Linked DNA regions of Homo sapiens: all the other regions are linked to region 2. The links are contacts of gene promoters, found by promoter capture Hi-C in human tissues and cell types (Jung and others, 2019). All regions are on one chromosome and are shown on one strand. The core of a region is centred on a gene start or on the middle of the fragment in contact, and the rest is flanking DNA. Distances in the headings are between cores, read along the strand shown.

Evidence for each region. The method cuts DNA at HindIII sites, captures the fragments that hold promoters and counts their contacts. A contact is called where the count stands out against the background at its distance.
Region 1: a contact is called between the fragment with the promoter of SPINK8 here and the fragment with the promoter of PRKAR2A in region 2, in 1 of the 25 tissues and cell types used here (mesenchymal stem cells).
Region 3: a contact is called between the fragment with the promoter of AMT here and the fragment with the promoter of PRKAR2A in region 2, in 1 of the 25 tissues and cell types used here (bladder).
Region 4: a contact is called between the fragment with the promoter of ZNF589 here and the fragment with the promoter of PRKAR2A in region 2, in 1 of the 25 tissues and cell types used here (liver).

The regions. Positions count from the first base shown.
Region 1 is chr3:48,332,246-48,335,384 of GRCh38, forward strand. SPINK8 (serine peptidase inhibitor Kazal type 8 (putative)) reads right to left here and starts at 1,416. Exons shown (of 8, transcript NM_001080525.3): 1 at 1,290-1,416; 2 at 121-226. RefSeq lists a silencer at 1,761-1,961. The HindIII fragment of the contact is 10,965 bases long and covers 1-3,139 here.
Region 2 is chr3:48,845,947-48,849,615 of GRCh38, forward strand. PRKAR2A (protein kinase cAMP-dependent type II regulatory subunit alpha) reads right to left here and starts at 1,928. Exons shown (of 11, transcript NM_004157.4): 1 at 1,389-1,928. The coding sequence starts at 1,650. PRKAR2A-AS1 (PRKAR2A antisense RNA 1) reads left to right here and starts at 1,991. Exons shown (of 3, transcript NR_109997.1): 1 at 1,991-2,079; 2 at 2,159-2,462; 3 at 3,041-3,669. RefSeq lists a silencer at 1,741-2,070. The HindIII fragment of the contact is 13,078 bases long and covers 1-3,669 here.
Region 3 is chr3:49,421,221-49,424,845 of GRCh38, forward strand. It overlaps AMT (aminomethyltransferase), which reads right to left and starts at 1,253. Exons shown (of 9, transcript NM_000481.4): 1 at 1,141-1,253; 2 at 884-1,051; 3 at 272-352. The coding sequence starts at 1,230. It overlaps NICN1 (nicolin 1, tubulin polyglutamylase complex subunit), which reads right to left. Exons shown (of 6, transcript NM_032316.3): 6 at 1,113-3,625. The coding sequence ends at 3,613. RefSeq lists enhancers at 128-880, 881-1,634. The HindIII fragment of the contact is 4,289 bases long and covers 1-2,050 here.
Region 4 is chr3:48,239,412-48,242,935 of GRCh38, forward strand. ZNF589 (zinc finger protein 589) reads left to right here and starts at 1,693. Exons shown (of 4, transcript NM_016089.3): 1 at 1,693-1,803. The coding sequence starts at 1,761. RefSeq lists enhancers at 848-1,142, 1,460-2,377, 1,568-1,862. The HindIII fragment of the contact is 6,944 bases long and covers 1-3,524 here.

The sequences.
Region 1 (3,139 bases), core at 166-2,665, 510 kb before region 2:
CTGCTCCTTCTGATCTCTATTATAAAAACTGAGGCCAAGTTCTTAGTTTAAGTTTTGTTCCAGGCCTAAGGCGGATTTTGAAGTTTTTTTCTAATGTCTGCAGCTGAGTGATAAACTTACCCTTTAAGATTAGTTGGCCTTCAATAGATCCAGATGACAGAGAGGTATGCTTCCTCAATGCCTCCCTTAGTCTCTCCAGAAAGGCAGTAGGATTTTCTTCCTTTCCCTGTGTTATAGTGGGCATCATTGAATAATTCATAGGCTTCTTCCTAGTTTTTCTTAGTCCTTCTAGCATGCAAGTTAGCAAATGTCTGCGGCACCAATCTCCACATTCTGATTCTGCGTCCCATTGAGGGTCTACACTGGGAACTGCCTGCTGGCCTGTGGGGAATCGTTCTCTTTCCTCTGTTGTCATCCTATCATTGACCTGACTGAGATACCAGAGATTGCCAAACTCTTGGGCTGCAGTTATAGCGGCACTTCTCTCATTTGGGGTTAGTATCTGATCTAGCAGTAACATTATGTCTCTCCATGTCAGATCAAAGGATTGTCCTAACCCTTGTAAAACATCAATATAGCCATCAGGGTTATTTGAGAATTTACCTAGGTCTATTTTAATTTGCTTCAAGTCTGAGAGGGAAAAAGGTACACACACTCTGGGCTGAATTCTCCTCCTCCCACCACTTCAAGGGGGCATAATCTGGGAATATTGGCACTCTTTGGTTCATTGTTTACCCCTTTCTCTATCTCCTTTGGCACCGTTTGTGTTGAAGGGGGGTCATTATTAGTTGGGGAAGGAGCCGGGGGAACGCCGGGGCAGGGGGGTAGATTCTGAGGGCTTCCTGTAGGGCATAAATCACACTTTTAACATAATTGTGAGTTGTCTCTTAATGAAAAGAAAGTTTGCACATATGGCACTTCGCTCCATTTGCCCTATTTTCTACAAAAGAAGTCTAGCTGTAAGATGGTGTTATAATTTATACTTCCCTTGGAGGGCATGTTTCTCCCTCTTGAAGAGGATATTGTGGCCAGGGGTACTGCAGAAGAATATAAGTCGTTTCTTTCTTAGCATCTGAGGGTCAAATTGGTCCTAATTCTCTAGAATACATCTTAGGGGCGTTTTTGCCTGGGAGGGGGGAACGTTTAAAAAGAACATAGGGATGCCAGCACCCCTAGTCATTTTCTGATGAGCATTAGTCCTAGAGCGTCCTCTGTGGTCCTAATGCTTATTCCTTTTCAGGGTGCGTAACCACCCACGGACCTCTGCTTATCAGATTAGTTACACTCACCGATGTAGCAGTCCTGCACCTGTTTTCCTGCCCTTCTTGACCACAAAGAAAGGGGTCTGGGCTGCTGGATTCTAGTGGTCCTTTACCAGCGTGCCTGACATTGCCTTTGCACTCAGGAGTGAGTTCTAGAGCTGGGCTGGGTTTCTGAGTATTTCATAACAACCCAGTTGCCCCATCAAGATGCATTTTCATAAACAACAGTTCTTATGCAAATTCGTTTCAGAGAGGGTGTAGGTAACCTTTTGAGTCAGGATTGAGATAGAGTTTTTGCCCACTAGGGCCTTTGTCCTTTTCCTTTGTAGGAATATGCCTTAATTATCGAACTTAAGATTTTGTTGCCCTGGATTAAGTCCTTTTGGGTACGAAATATGAGAGATGGCTCCTGTTTATCCTATGTGCCTTTTTCCTACGAGAAGGAGAGCGAGGAGAAAAAGATGGGCTTGCTCTTTTTGTAAGTACTTTAAGGCTTGGCTGAGTGCAAACAGCTCGCAGTTTGTGCAGACCAATTATGAGGCAATTCTCCTAACTCTGCTTCCACAAGAGTTTCCTTATCAATTACTGAATACCCATTGTGGTTTTTTCCTCAATCGCCTGGGAGGAACCATCTATCGTCCTATCCTAAAGGAAGTTCCTCCTAGGTCTGGTTGGACCTTTGCATGGCAATTAAGATTTAAATCCCCTGTTAGGAAATCTGCTGGGTTAAGGGAATTATCAGTGGTTGGTGTTAAATCACCTTTTTCTAACAGAATAGCCCCATACTTTAAGAATTTTGAGCTAGTAAGCTACCTTTTTTTTTTTTTTTTTTTGGTCTTAGGATTGTTCTGAACTGGTGAGGTGTGCTCACAATGAGGTTTCCTCTAAAGGTTATTTTTCTACTTTATTCTGTTAGCAAAGCAGTTGCCACTACAGATTGAATGCATTTGGGCCATCCACGGGTTACTGGGTTCAGGATTTTTGATAGGAAGGCTATGGGTTGTCAGTGGTCTCAGTGTTTTCGGGCTACGCCCTTGTTTACACTGACAACAAGGTAGTATTGGAGTATTATAGGGTCGTGGAGAAGACCTTTAATTATCAATTATAGGTTCTAAATTTACCTTGGCTTTTAAAGGAATAGGGTACACTGTTTTTTCTTTACTACCTCTCTCTTTCCCTTTTTTCTTTCTTTCTCTCTTTGACTTTCTGCCTCTTCCTCTCTCTGTCTGTCTTTTTTTAGATGGATTTTGGAAACGCAGTGGAAGGACGTTCACTTGTTGCCCCAGTTTGCCACTATAGGAACATGTGCCTCCCTTTAATTTACTCAAATTCGTTTTCATCCTGATCTATTATGTTGTTGTAGACTCAGTTCCAGTTGTTAAAATACTGGGTTATCAGTTCTAAGGGCCTGGCCAAGGAGCCAAGGCTTGGAGATTGTATTGCAGGGGGTAGTAAACTGGGTAGAAATTAGGGGAGGAGAGCATCTTACACAATGGGAGAGCGATCTTCCTAGCTATTTACAAACTTGGGGCCCTGGCAAGGGTGGTGGGGAATGGGTCCCACATAACAGCCCATGTTGACAGCTATATACCTAAATTGGGAGGGACACCAGGGGCAAGACTCCCTGGGTTCATAGCCTAGATATCTAAGGCCACAGCATAGAGCTTCCTTAGATCTCTTTGGAGATACAACTTGCTCTAATACTTGGGAGAGGAAATGAAAGTCTGAAGCATTAGTACCTAGGAGGCAGGGATTGGAGGAAGTAGATTCAGAGGTAAGGAGAATTTTTGGGGCTACACTTTCAAGAAAGTCATGGTCGGGACCCAGGAGGTATGGGTCAGAAGGAAAGGTAGGGGTGCACACGTGGGCAACTGTTG
Region 2 (3,669 bases), core at 678-3,177:
AAAAAAAAAAAAAGGTGTGATGATCTTGGATCACCAAATCTGTGAGGGGAGGGACAGTCTCCAACTTGTTTCCTGCTCGGTCCTTATTGCGTACTCTTGGAGTTTATTGCAAACTCTTGGAGAAGGTTTACTATTACTAAATGATAAATCCTGACACAGCAAGTAGAGCCAATGAAGCTGCTCTCCTGATCTCAGTCTCTGCTGGGATCCTTTCCTTTAAAGCTACAACCCACCCACTAAACAAGAATATAGTTACTGGGTTTTTCCTTTTTCTTTTTTTTTTTTTTTGAGACGGAGTTCGCTCTGTCGCCCAGGCTGGAGTGCAGTGGCATGATCTTGGCTCACTGCAACCTCCGCCTCCCAGGTTCAAGCGATTCTCCCTGCCTCAGCCTCCCAAGTAGCTGGGACTACAGACGCCCGCCACCACGCCCGGCTAATTTTTGTATTTTTAGTAGAGACGGGGTTTCGCCATGTTGGCCAGGCTGGTCTCGAACTCCTGACCTCAGGTGATCCACCCGCCTCGGCCTCCCAAAGTGCTGGGACTACAGGCGTGACCCACCACGCCCGGCCAGGTTTTTCGTTTTCAAAAATGAGGTAGGGTGTCTATTTTGCCCAGGCTGGTCTCGAACTCTTGGATTCAAGCGATATTTCCTCCTCAGCCTCCAGAGTAGCTGGTATAGACTATAGGGGCCCACTGCCCCGGCCGGCAAGATAATTATTTACTCTCACCAAATTTGATTCAATCGTTTTGGCCAAGTTTTTAAAAATAGGAATATTCCCAGGGACCATGTTTGAAGAAATACAAACTCAAGTAAGCAGAGGTGAAATGACCTGAGAGATTTGCTTTAATACACTTCGGCAAAGAAAGAAAAAAGGTATGGATGAAACTTTGTGACAAACGCAACTGTTAAATGTAGGTGATGGCATATAGGGATTCATCTCACCTTTCCTCTTTTGTCTATGCTTAAAAGTTTTCACAGTAACTTTTCAAAAAAAATTATTATTTCCAAACAAACTTACTGTCCTATCAATTAAACACAAGTCACTGGATGAGAACGCTGTTGTCTTCGAAGCCAAAACTGGTGAAGGGTCTTAAGCAAAGGCGAGGGATCCTCTAGCAGGGCCGACAGCGCGCACGTTTCCTTCAAGGCTGGATCTGACAAATCACTCGGTGCGCTCTAGGGCTCGCAGGATCGCGGAGCTCAATTTGGAAGTGGCGCACGCGGGCTCACGCCGGTGTCTCAGGGAAACGCTAGAAACGCGGCTACAGAGCTCCCAATCCCAGCCTGCGGTCGGCTTGGCTGCGGCGCGACACCTGGCTCCCTGCCACCCCTCTAGACCTCTGGAGACCTCCTGCACCACTCCCCAGGGCCCCGCCCACAGCCTACCTTCCAAGTCCTCGTCCTCCTCCGACTCGCTGTCCCCTTTGGCGTCGGCGACACGGTCCGGGCCGGGTTCTGGCGGGGGGTGGCCCAGGCTCTGGCGTGGGGTGGCGGCGGGCAGGACTGAGGCTGGGGCGCGGGCCTCGCGCAGGCGGGTGAAGTACTCCACTGCGAATTCGACGAGGTCAGGCGGCTGCTGTCGCAGCACCTCCACCGTGTAGCCCTGCAGCAGCTCCGTGAGCCCCGGCGGGATCTGGATGTGGCTCATGCCGGCGGCGGCCGAAGGGATAGACGGGTTGGGCCGCCGGCGGCCACTGTCTCCGCGCTCACTCACGCCGGCCTTTCGCTCCGCGCCCGCGAGGTCTCTTCGCGCACGGCCCCGGCTCACGTCGCGCCGCTCTTTGGCCGGCTCTGCGTTTCCGGGCCGCGCAACCCTACGCTACCACGGCCGACCTGGCACCGCCGCCGCTGTCACTGGGCAGCCGCCGCCGCCGCGGGGACCGACGGGCAGGCGAGCTGGACGGGCGGGGCAGGCGTCCTGGTTGTGACGCACGCCACCGCGGGCGTGCGCGTCCCCGCTTAGCACCGGCCCTCAGTGCGCTTGCGCCACTAGATGACCCGCCCCCTCGGGCTGTCGGGGGGTCGAGACAGTGGAGTGTTCCTGATGCCAGCTCACGGAGGGAATCCAGGGAATTAGGTAATGAACGGTCTACCCATGAAGGGGACCGATTAGTGCCTCTCGCCTGGTCCTGAAGACCTTTAAATTATTCTTTCAGCTGATGCCAAGAGCCTCTTTTTGGCCAGCACTTACTAAGCACCAGAGACACAGCGAGAAGCAGAAGCATACGAGCACATCAGTGTGATTCTGCTGTGATGAAGGGCAAGAGAGGGCTCACTTTCCGGCGTGACATTCAAGCTAGCCCCGAGGCCTGAGCAGGACCCGCCCAGGGGAAGATCTGGAGGAAAGCCATCTGAACATACAACAAGAGCAAAGGCCTGGTGGAGTCAAGACCACCTTGGCTGCCAGGTGGAATGGTGGAATAACTCAGGAGTCTGTCAGGTCTCTGAGATGTCAAACGGGTAAGGCCTTGTAGGAAGTAGGCGTTTGAATGAGATCATAATTTGAGAGCCACAGACAGAAAAATAAATTTGAAAGAGTTCACTCAGCCAAATGTGTACAGTGAGAAAGGGAAATAAGGCCAAAAGCAGCAAAGACCTCTGTGCCTGTTCCTCCTGGAGCACTTTCACCAGGGTCCCCAGATCTAGGTCTGCCCATTCCTCTCCCCACATTCTACACTGGGCCCTAGGTCAACACTGCTTGATGAAGTTGAGCAGACCACAGGCATTGTTATCCTTTGCCCCTGGGAAGATGGTATAGGTGAACTGTAGAGGCCAGACTATTTCCCAAATTGCCCTCCTCCTCCTACCAAACTGGAAGGGTATTGAAAAAGGTGGAGACCTTCCTGGGATGTCCAGTCTACAGCCTACGTGCTAACCAAAGGCCCACTGGGCATAGAGCAGAGTCCCCCTCTCCTTACAGGCCTAGCCAGGAAGAGAGTAGCTGTAGGTTTGGGAACCTGAGGGCATTTGGGATGCTTAAACACCGCCTGGTAATTACTCAGTATTAATTAAAATCCTCCCTATCACCTCCCATACAGGCTTGGCACACACCCAGGAGCTCAATGCTGCTGGGAGCTGAGCAGCTGGGAGCAAGGAGCCCTCATCCCCACTGATGAAGAGGCCAGCCCAGGTTCTAGGCTAAGCAGGCCTGTGATTATAAACAGCAGTGTCTCCCTGGACAAGTTTCTTGACCCTGAGAAGAATGTTAGACCATCAACTTTGTGAGGGGACAGGCAGTCTCCAACTTTTTTCCTGCTCAGTCCTTATTGCATACTCTTGGAGAAGGTCTACTGACTTGTTCTCAGATGCCCCACGGCTCAGCCAACCACCCATCCAGCAGAGCATTCAAAAGGCATCTGGAAGGAATGAGGGCGACCGTTCTGCCAGGCCCCTATTTTTTTTTGAGAGGAGTCTCACTCTGTCGCCCAGGCTGGAGTGCAATGGCATGACCTCTGCTCACTGCAAGCTCTGCCTCCCAGGTTCAAGCGATTCTCCTGTCTCAGCCTCCCAAGTAGCTGGTACTACAGGCGTGCACCACCACACCCAGCAAATTTTTTCTATTTTTAGTAGAGATGGGGTTTCTCCATGTTGGCCAGGATGGTCTCAATCTCTTGACCTCGTGATCCACCCGCCTCAGCCTCCCAAAGTGCTGGGATTACAGGCGTGA
Region 3 (3,625 bases), core at 3-2,502, 570 kb after region 2:
GAATAGAGAGGGGTTAAGCAGAAGGGATGGCCAGAGAGCAGCATATTAACCTTGGTTTCTGGCCTCCTAGCCTGATGTAGTAAGACTGGGATATTCCCCTCCCTACAAATGTCTGTGTCTCTGGAAATGACTCAGGGATTCTGTCCAAGACTGCAAGCCCTGAGAAGCTGTGTTTGACTCATCTCTGTGCCCCTAAGCCTGAGGTAGGGACTCAGCCCATTTGCTGGCTCATGACTAAGAAAACTCATAGAGCAGAAATAAAAGGGCCCACCTGGTTTGGTCTTAGCTCTGCAATGTCTCCAACCACTAGACTCTCCATCAGCTTCACCCGGTCACTACCAAGTATCTTGGTCTGGGGAAGAGATTGAAAGCCTCAGGCCATTGCAACAGCTACAATCCAAAAGGCTACTAAGCAAGGATGCATCCTCCCTGCCATCCACAGTGCAGTCCAGCCCACCCAAAGTGACTAACCAGTCTTTTGGTTCTACACGTGGCAAAGGACCACCTTCTGATTTCCTGACCTCCCCCAGTCACTCTGTGTGGGGGGACTGCCAGGGAACTGGACAGGACCTAGCACCTTCCTGAAATAACCCCTTTTCAAACCAACATCCAGCCCAATACATGAGAGTGGGTGTCAGCCCTGGAAAACCCGGGACATTAAGGCACACCATTTAATGGGGGCAAGCTAGAAGGATGAGATGATGAGACCCTCTGAGCTCATTTCCTTGGGGCCATTGACCTATCCATGACACCCCCATGACCTCTAGCTCTTCTGAGAAGGCTGTCCTTGGAATCCAGTTCACAGCAAACAAAGCCAAGGAGTGGACCACTGTAAACAGGGAGGAAGGCCTGATCAGATGGCCAGTGTGCTCCCCTGGCTCACCTGCAGCATATGAGACACGTCAAAGAGCGAGCAGTGCTGGCGTGTGTGCAGGTGCGAGTCAGTGTGACTGTCCCGGTACTGCACTGGCAGACTCCAACCCGCAAACGCCACCATTTTCCCGCCGTGGGCCAGGTGGAAGTCATAGAGCGGTGTCCTGCGGAGCACCTCCTGTGGGCGGCTGGGCTTAGTGCCACCAGGGCCCTAGCCCCCAGCCGCTTCCCTCCCCCACCCTCCAAGATCAGCACCCTCTATCCCACCTGTGCGCAACTAAGTGGACGACACAAGGCCGGGGGGAATGCCTGCAGGCGAAAGCCCAGACGGGCCACCACACTTACAGCCCTCTGCATCGTCGCCTGCAACGAGTGCAGACGGCGCACAGAGGCCACCACACTGCCAGGCACGCCGGGAGATGTAGTCCAGGCCTCTGCTCGGACAGGTCTCTCTCCGGAGCAAAGGATCTGAAGGGGGCGTGGGCAGCCCCAAGGGCAGGCTGGGATTTAGAGCAGAGAATGCAGGAACCCGCAACCACAGGGAAGAAGCCTCCAGCTCTTTCGGCTGACTCTTCAGGGCAGCTCGGGCAATCCAGAGCTGATTGGGCTGCCCAGAACAAAGCTAGGGGCTAGACCGCCCCCTGCAGAACCGCCCTGTCTCCAGAGGGTCAAAGTTCTGGAAAGGGCTGAAAGGTCTGAATCATACCTTTAGGACCTCAAGAGAGTAAGGTCAAGTGGGGGTGGGGAAGGTGGGCCAGCCTGGCAGGTAGGCAGCACCACAGTAGTCTGTCCTCATGTGGACCCCTAGTTCCACAGCTCTCCCACCAGGCAGACACAGGCAGCCAGCAGTCATGCATTCCACAAGTATTTATTGATCTTACTGCATACCAGGCCCTCAGATGGGGACACAGCCACGAATGAAGCATGGTCCCTGCTACCACAAGGTCCTCTTCACTTACACACACACTGAGGACTACTGCTTCGTCACGCTTTCCGAAGCAGCTGAGTGGGGCTATGTAAGTGACCTTGCAGATGAAGTCGCCACCTGCAAGAACTCACAGGTGAGAACAGAGGGTGGCCACCAAAAGGTCACTGAACTCCCCCGAGAAAACTGTTGAGCCACACACATGTCCAACTTTCCAGGTCCAAGACATACTGCAGTACTGCTTTGTAATAGCCACCAGGTGCAAAGCCAGGAAGAACCAGAGGGAAACAGGTTTTTCTCACATGAGGGAAGAGCAGCCTGCATCACTTAATGGTTGGACTGAGTTAATGCAGGACTTAGGCCTCTTAAAAGGCAACAATGAGAACCCTTACTTGGACCCACTCCCCACCACGGTTGATCTCTCATTATGCTGAGCATATCTCTTGGAAAGGGGCAGGGCGGGCGCGGTGGCTCATGCCTGTAATCCCAGCACTTTGGAAGGCCAAGGCAGGCAGATCACCTGAGGTCAGGTGTTTGAGACCAGCCTGACCAACATGGAGAAACCCCATCTCTACTACAAATACAAAATTAGCCAGGCATGGTGATGCATGACTGTAATCCCAGCTACTCGGGAGACTGAGGCAGGAGAATTGCTTGAACCTGGGAGGCGGAGGTTGCAGTTAGCCAAGATTGCACTATTGCACTCCAGCCTGGGCAACAAGAGCAAAACTCAACCTCAAAAAAAACAACAAAAAAGGAGAGGGGCAACTGGGAGAAAGGATAGAGATGTGCTTTGGGCTATGTCAGATGGCAGAAGGGTCCCAGTTCTTTTTTTTTTGTTTGTTTGTTTAAGATGGAGTTTCGCTCTTCTTGCCCAGGCTGGAGTGCAATGGCATGATCTCAGGTCCGCAACCTCCACTTCCCGGGTTCAAGAGATTCTCCTGCCTCAGCCTCCCAAGTAGCTGGGATTACAGGTGCCTACCACCACGCCCAGCTAATTTTTTGTATTTTTAGTAGAGACGGGGTTTCTCCAGGTTGGTCAGGCTGGTCTTGAACTCCTGACCTCAGGTGATCCGCCTGCCTGGGCCTCCCAAAGTGCTGGGATTACAGGCGTGAGCCACTGCACCCTGCCTAGAAGGGTCCCAGTTCTTATGCTCAGGCCCTGGTTTTGCTAGAGACACGTGCCCAGGCCCTATGGGCACACCCACTTGAACATATATTCAGGAGCCAGCTCAGAAACCAAGAGACTCAGGCTGCCCAAATCTTCAGGTTTCCTTCCTAGGCAGGCAGCAGAAGAGTTCAGACAGGAAATTTCTCTCTGTGGCATAACACAAATGGAAAGAAAACCACTAGGGGACACACAGGAAGAAATAAGGTTTCTGTTTCTTCCTCAAGTGTCCCAAGTGCCATGGCAGCAATGGCCTTCCAGGTCCATACATGGAGCAGGTTTTAGTAGGTCAGCCCAGCCCAACTGCACTGACATGAGGGAGCAGGCAGAAGACAGGAATGTGCATGTTGCCAGAAGGGGCAGAGGGCACTCAGGGATTCTCAGTAAGTACAACTGACTGGAGTGTTTTTGGGTAGAAGGAAGAATTGAGTTGCAGCCAGGCGAAGACAGAGCACCCCCATGCCAGGAGCTCATGCTGAAGTAACACGGTAAGCCCCTGAGAATCCTGAATCTGTGAATGTGGCCCAGACAGAACAGGCATGCAGGCAACACTTGGAATGCACAGGAAATACACTTCAGCCTCTGGTGGCCCAAACCAAGTCTGGGTGGGCACAGAAAGGCCAACATCTTGGCTAGGAGCAACCATTCAAGTGTAGGAG
Region 4 (3,524 bases), core at 443-2,942, 610 kb before region 2:
ACAGAGCGAGACTCCGTCTCAAAAAAAAAAAAAAAAAAAAAAAAAAAACCAACCAAAAAAAAAAAGAATCCAAAAATATTAGCGGGGTATGGTGGTGCGTGCTTGTAATCCCGGCTACTCAGGAGGTTGAGGCAGGAGAATCGCTTGAACCCAGGAGAGGGAGGTTGCAGTGAGCCGAGATGGCACCACTGCACTCCAGCATGGTAGACAGAGTGAGACTCCGTGTTCTTTTCCCTAAAAAAAAAAAAAGAGTAATTGGGGAAGTTGTGCTTCAAAAGAGTAATTGGGGAAGTTGTGCGTCTTAGGGCCTCTGGAATAATGGCTGGTAATATTTAGAATTCCAGCCCTTCTCATCCTAATTTGGTGGCTGGTGGCCTTTCATTCATTTTACAAGAACAGTTTAGCCCTTGGGAAGGGCTATTATTTAAGCTATAAACTGAATTCCTTCCCAAGGCTACTTTGGCCTATGCCCAGAAGTGGACAAAGACAGTTTAGAGGTTGAAAGGAAGATGAGGTGGGTTAGATCTGATATCTTTTACTGTCATTGATAAGGCTCTGATGACTGGAGGAACACCAGGGTCCTTGGTCTCTGATAGGCTTAATAACACAGACACACGTGGAGTGGTTTTAAGGAGCGAAAAGTTTAATAGGCAAGAAAGAAGGAAGGAAGACGAAAACAGCTCCCCCATACAGAGACAGAGGGAGCGGGGATTCCAACAAAGAGAAAGCGCCGTGTGCGGAAAAGTGGCTGCTTATCTGAGGATGCTGGAGGAGGCGGTGTCTGGTTTCCATAGGGCTCAGGGGATTAGTTTGATCAGATGTGTCATTTATGTGGCAGCCAAAAACCTGGCCCTCCCACCCTAGCTTTTTAATATGCAAATGTAGGGCTCCATGAAGTTCTACACACGTGGGAATATGTGGGGGGTGGCCATGTTGCCAGGCACATGTCAGGGCAAAGAAAAGGACGGCGGGAATCGCCATGTTTGGGTGCGTCCAGTTTCTAATGGCCTGTATTTCCATATCAAAGCTTGCCATCCTGCTCTAGGAGCCCAGGCTTTCCTGCTAGACAAGAAACCTTTCTGGAGCTGCTTTAAAAGAAACAAAAACTTCCCAAGGACCCCTTTCCTTCTCTATCTGCTTAAAATAATTTCTTAATAACTCCTATAACATCATAATTTCCTTAGGTATAATTTTGCAAAGGCGGTTTCAAAAGCTCTTTGGGGTCCTCAGTAATTTTTAAGAGTGTAAAAGGATTTTAACAACAACAAGTTTGCGAACCACTGTCCTTGAGAAGCTCTCCATGGATGCGCATGAGTCTGTCCAATTGGAGTCCTGGTGTATTTCTACATTAGATACCACACAGCAGTGAACACACAATGAACAGGTCAACACGTGTCATTATAGAACTGCGCAAAAGAGCTAGTAGCAGGCATTGTAAGTGTATTTATATAATGTTTACAACCATGGAAAACAACACTATATTTTGCTTATGGGTACCTGTGGTAAGCACAACCCCAAATATTGCGGCCGAGGGGGACCTAGAAGGTCAAAGTGCGCCTCAGCATTTTCTCTCGCCCTGCACAAGCCGCATTTCGCCCCGAGAACTACGCTTCCCGGCAGGCTGCGCGCCGCGCGGTGACGCACTTCACCCAGTCCTGCTTCTTTCTTCTGGCGCCGCCAGTGGCCCGCGGTGCGCATTCTAATCCGTTTCACACACGGTGCTGCTACCTCGTTTGCTTCGTGCGTGCGTGCGCGCGCAGATGTGGGCCCCGCGGGAGCAGCTACTGGGCTGGACTGCGGAAGGTGAGTCGGGGCCGCGAGATCGCCTCCCCCATTCGGTGCTCCAGCCGCAGGCGCCGCGCAGGCGTCGGCCGTATCCACCAGGGATGCGCGTGGGGTGCGAGCTGTGTGAGGCGCTGACTACCCCTACAGCGGCTCTTACTCCCCTGGGGGGCCAGGTTCCTCCCTAGGTGTCCCGTACAGTCTCCACGGTGCTCACTCCACGACTCTTCACCGGGCATCCTGCACTTGTGCACTCCGGCAGTCATTGGCCATAAATGGCTGCTGAGCATTTGAGATGTGTGGAGTGCAACTGAAGAACAGCATTTTGTATTATTATATTATATCATATTTATTTTGAGACGGAGTCTCGCTCTGTCGCCCAGGCTGGAGTGCAGTGGCGCGATCTCCGTTCACTGCAATCTCCGTCTCCCGGGTTCAAGCAGTTCTCTGCCTCAGCCTGCCGAGCAGCTGGGATTACAGGCGCCCTCCACCACGCCTGGCTAATTTTTGTATTTTTAGTAGAGACGGGGATTTCACCATGTTGGCCAGGCTGGTTTTGAACTCCAGACCTCGTGATCCGCCCACCTCGGCCTCCCAAAGTGCTGGGATTACAGGCGTGAGCCACCGCGCCCGGAGTATATTATATTTTTATATTTTTTGAGTCGGTCCGGAGTGCAGTGGCGGGATCTAGGCTCACTGCAGCCTCCGCTTTCCCAGGCTCAAGTGATTCTCGTGCCTCAGCTTCCGGAGTAGCTGGGATTACAGGCGGCGCCTCACCACCCCGGCTGTTGTATTTTTAGTAGAGAGGGGATTTCGCCATATTTGCCAGGCTGGTCTCGAACTCCTGGCCTCAAGCAATCCACCCACCTTGGCCTCCCACAATGTTGGGATTACAGGTGTTAGCCACCCCACCCGGCCCAAAAGACTTTTTTTTTGGAGACAGAGTCTTGCTCTGTAGCCCAGGCTGGAGTGCAGTGGGCGATCTCTGCTCACTGCAACCTCTTTCTCCCAGGTTCCAGCGATTCTCCTGCCTCAGCCTACCAAGCGGCTGGAATTACAGGGACACGCCACCACGCCCGGCTATTTTTTTGTATTTTTAGTAGAGGCGGGGTTTCATCATGTTGGCCAGGCCGGTCTTGAACTCCTGACCCCAGATGATCCACCTGCCTCGGCCTCCCAAAGTGTTGGGATTACAGGTGGGAGCTACCACACCCGGCCCCAAATGACTTTGGATGTAACAACAGGAACAGTCTAGAACAGGGCTGGGCAAATTTTTTTCTGTTTGGTTTTTTTAGAAACAGGGTCTCCCTATGTTGCCCAGGCTGGTCTCCAACTCCTGGGCTCAAGGGATCCTCCCGCCTCGGTCTCCCAAAGTGCTAGGATTATAGGCGTGAGCCACTGCACCTGGTCTTGCAAACGTTTTCTTTTAAGGGCCAGGTGGTAAATGTTTCAGGCTTTGTAGGCCACACGGTCTTTGTTACGACTAGTGGTCTGCTGTTGTGTGAAAGCAGCCAAAGACCATAGGTAAACGAATGAGCATTGCCGTGTTCCAATAAAACTTTCTTTATAGACATTGAAATTTGAATTTTGGCTGAGTGCAGTGGCTCACGCCTGTAATCCCAGCACTTTGGGAGGCCAAGGCAGGAGGATCTCTTGAGCCCAGGAGTTCAAGACCAGCCTGGTCAACATGGCAACACCCCATCTCTACTTTAAAAATAAAATAAAATAAAATAAGCTGGGTG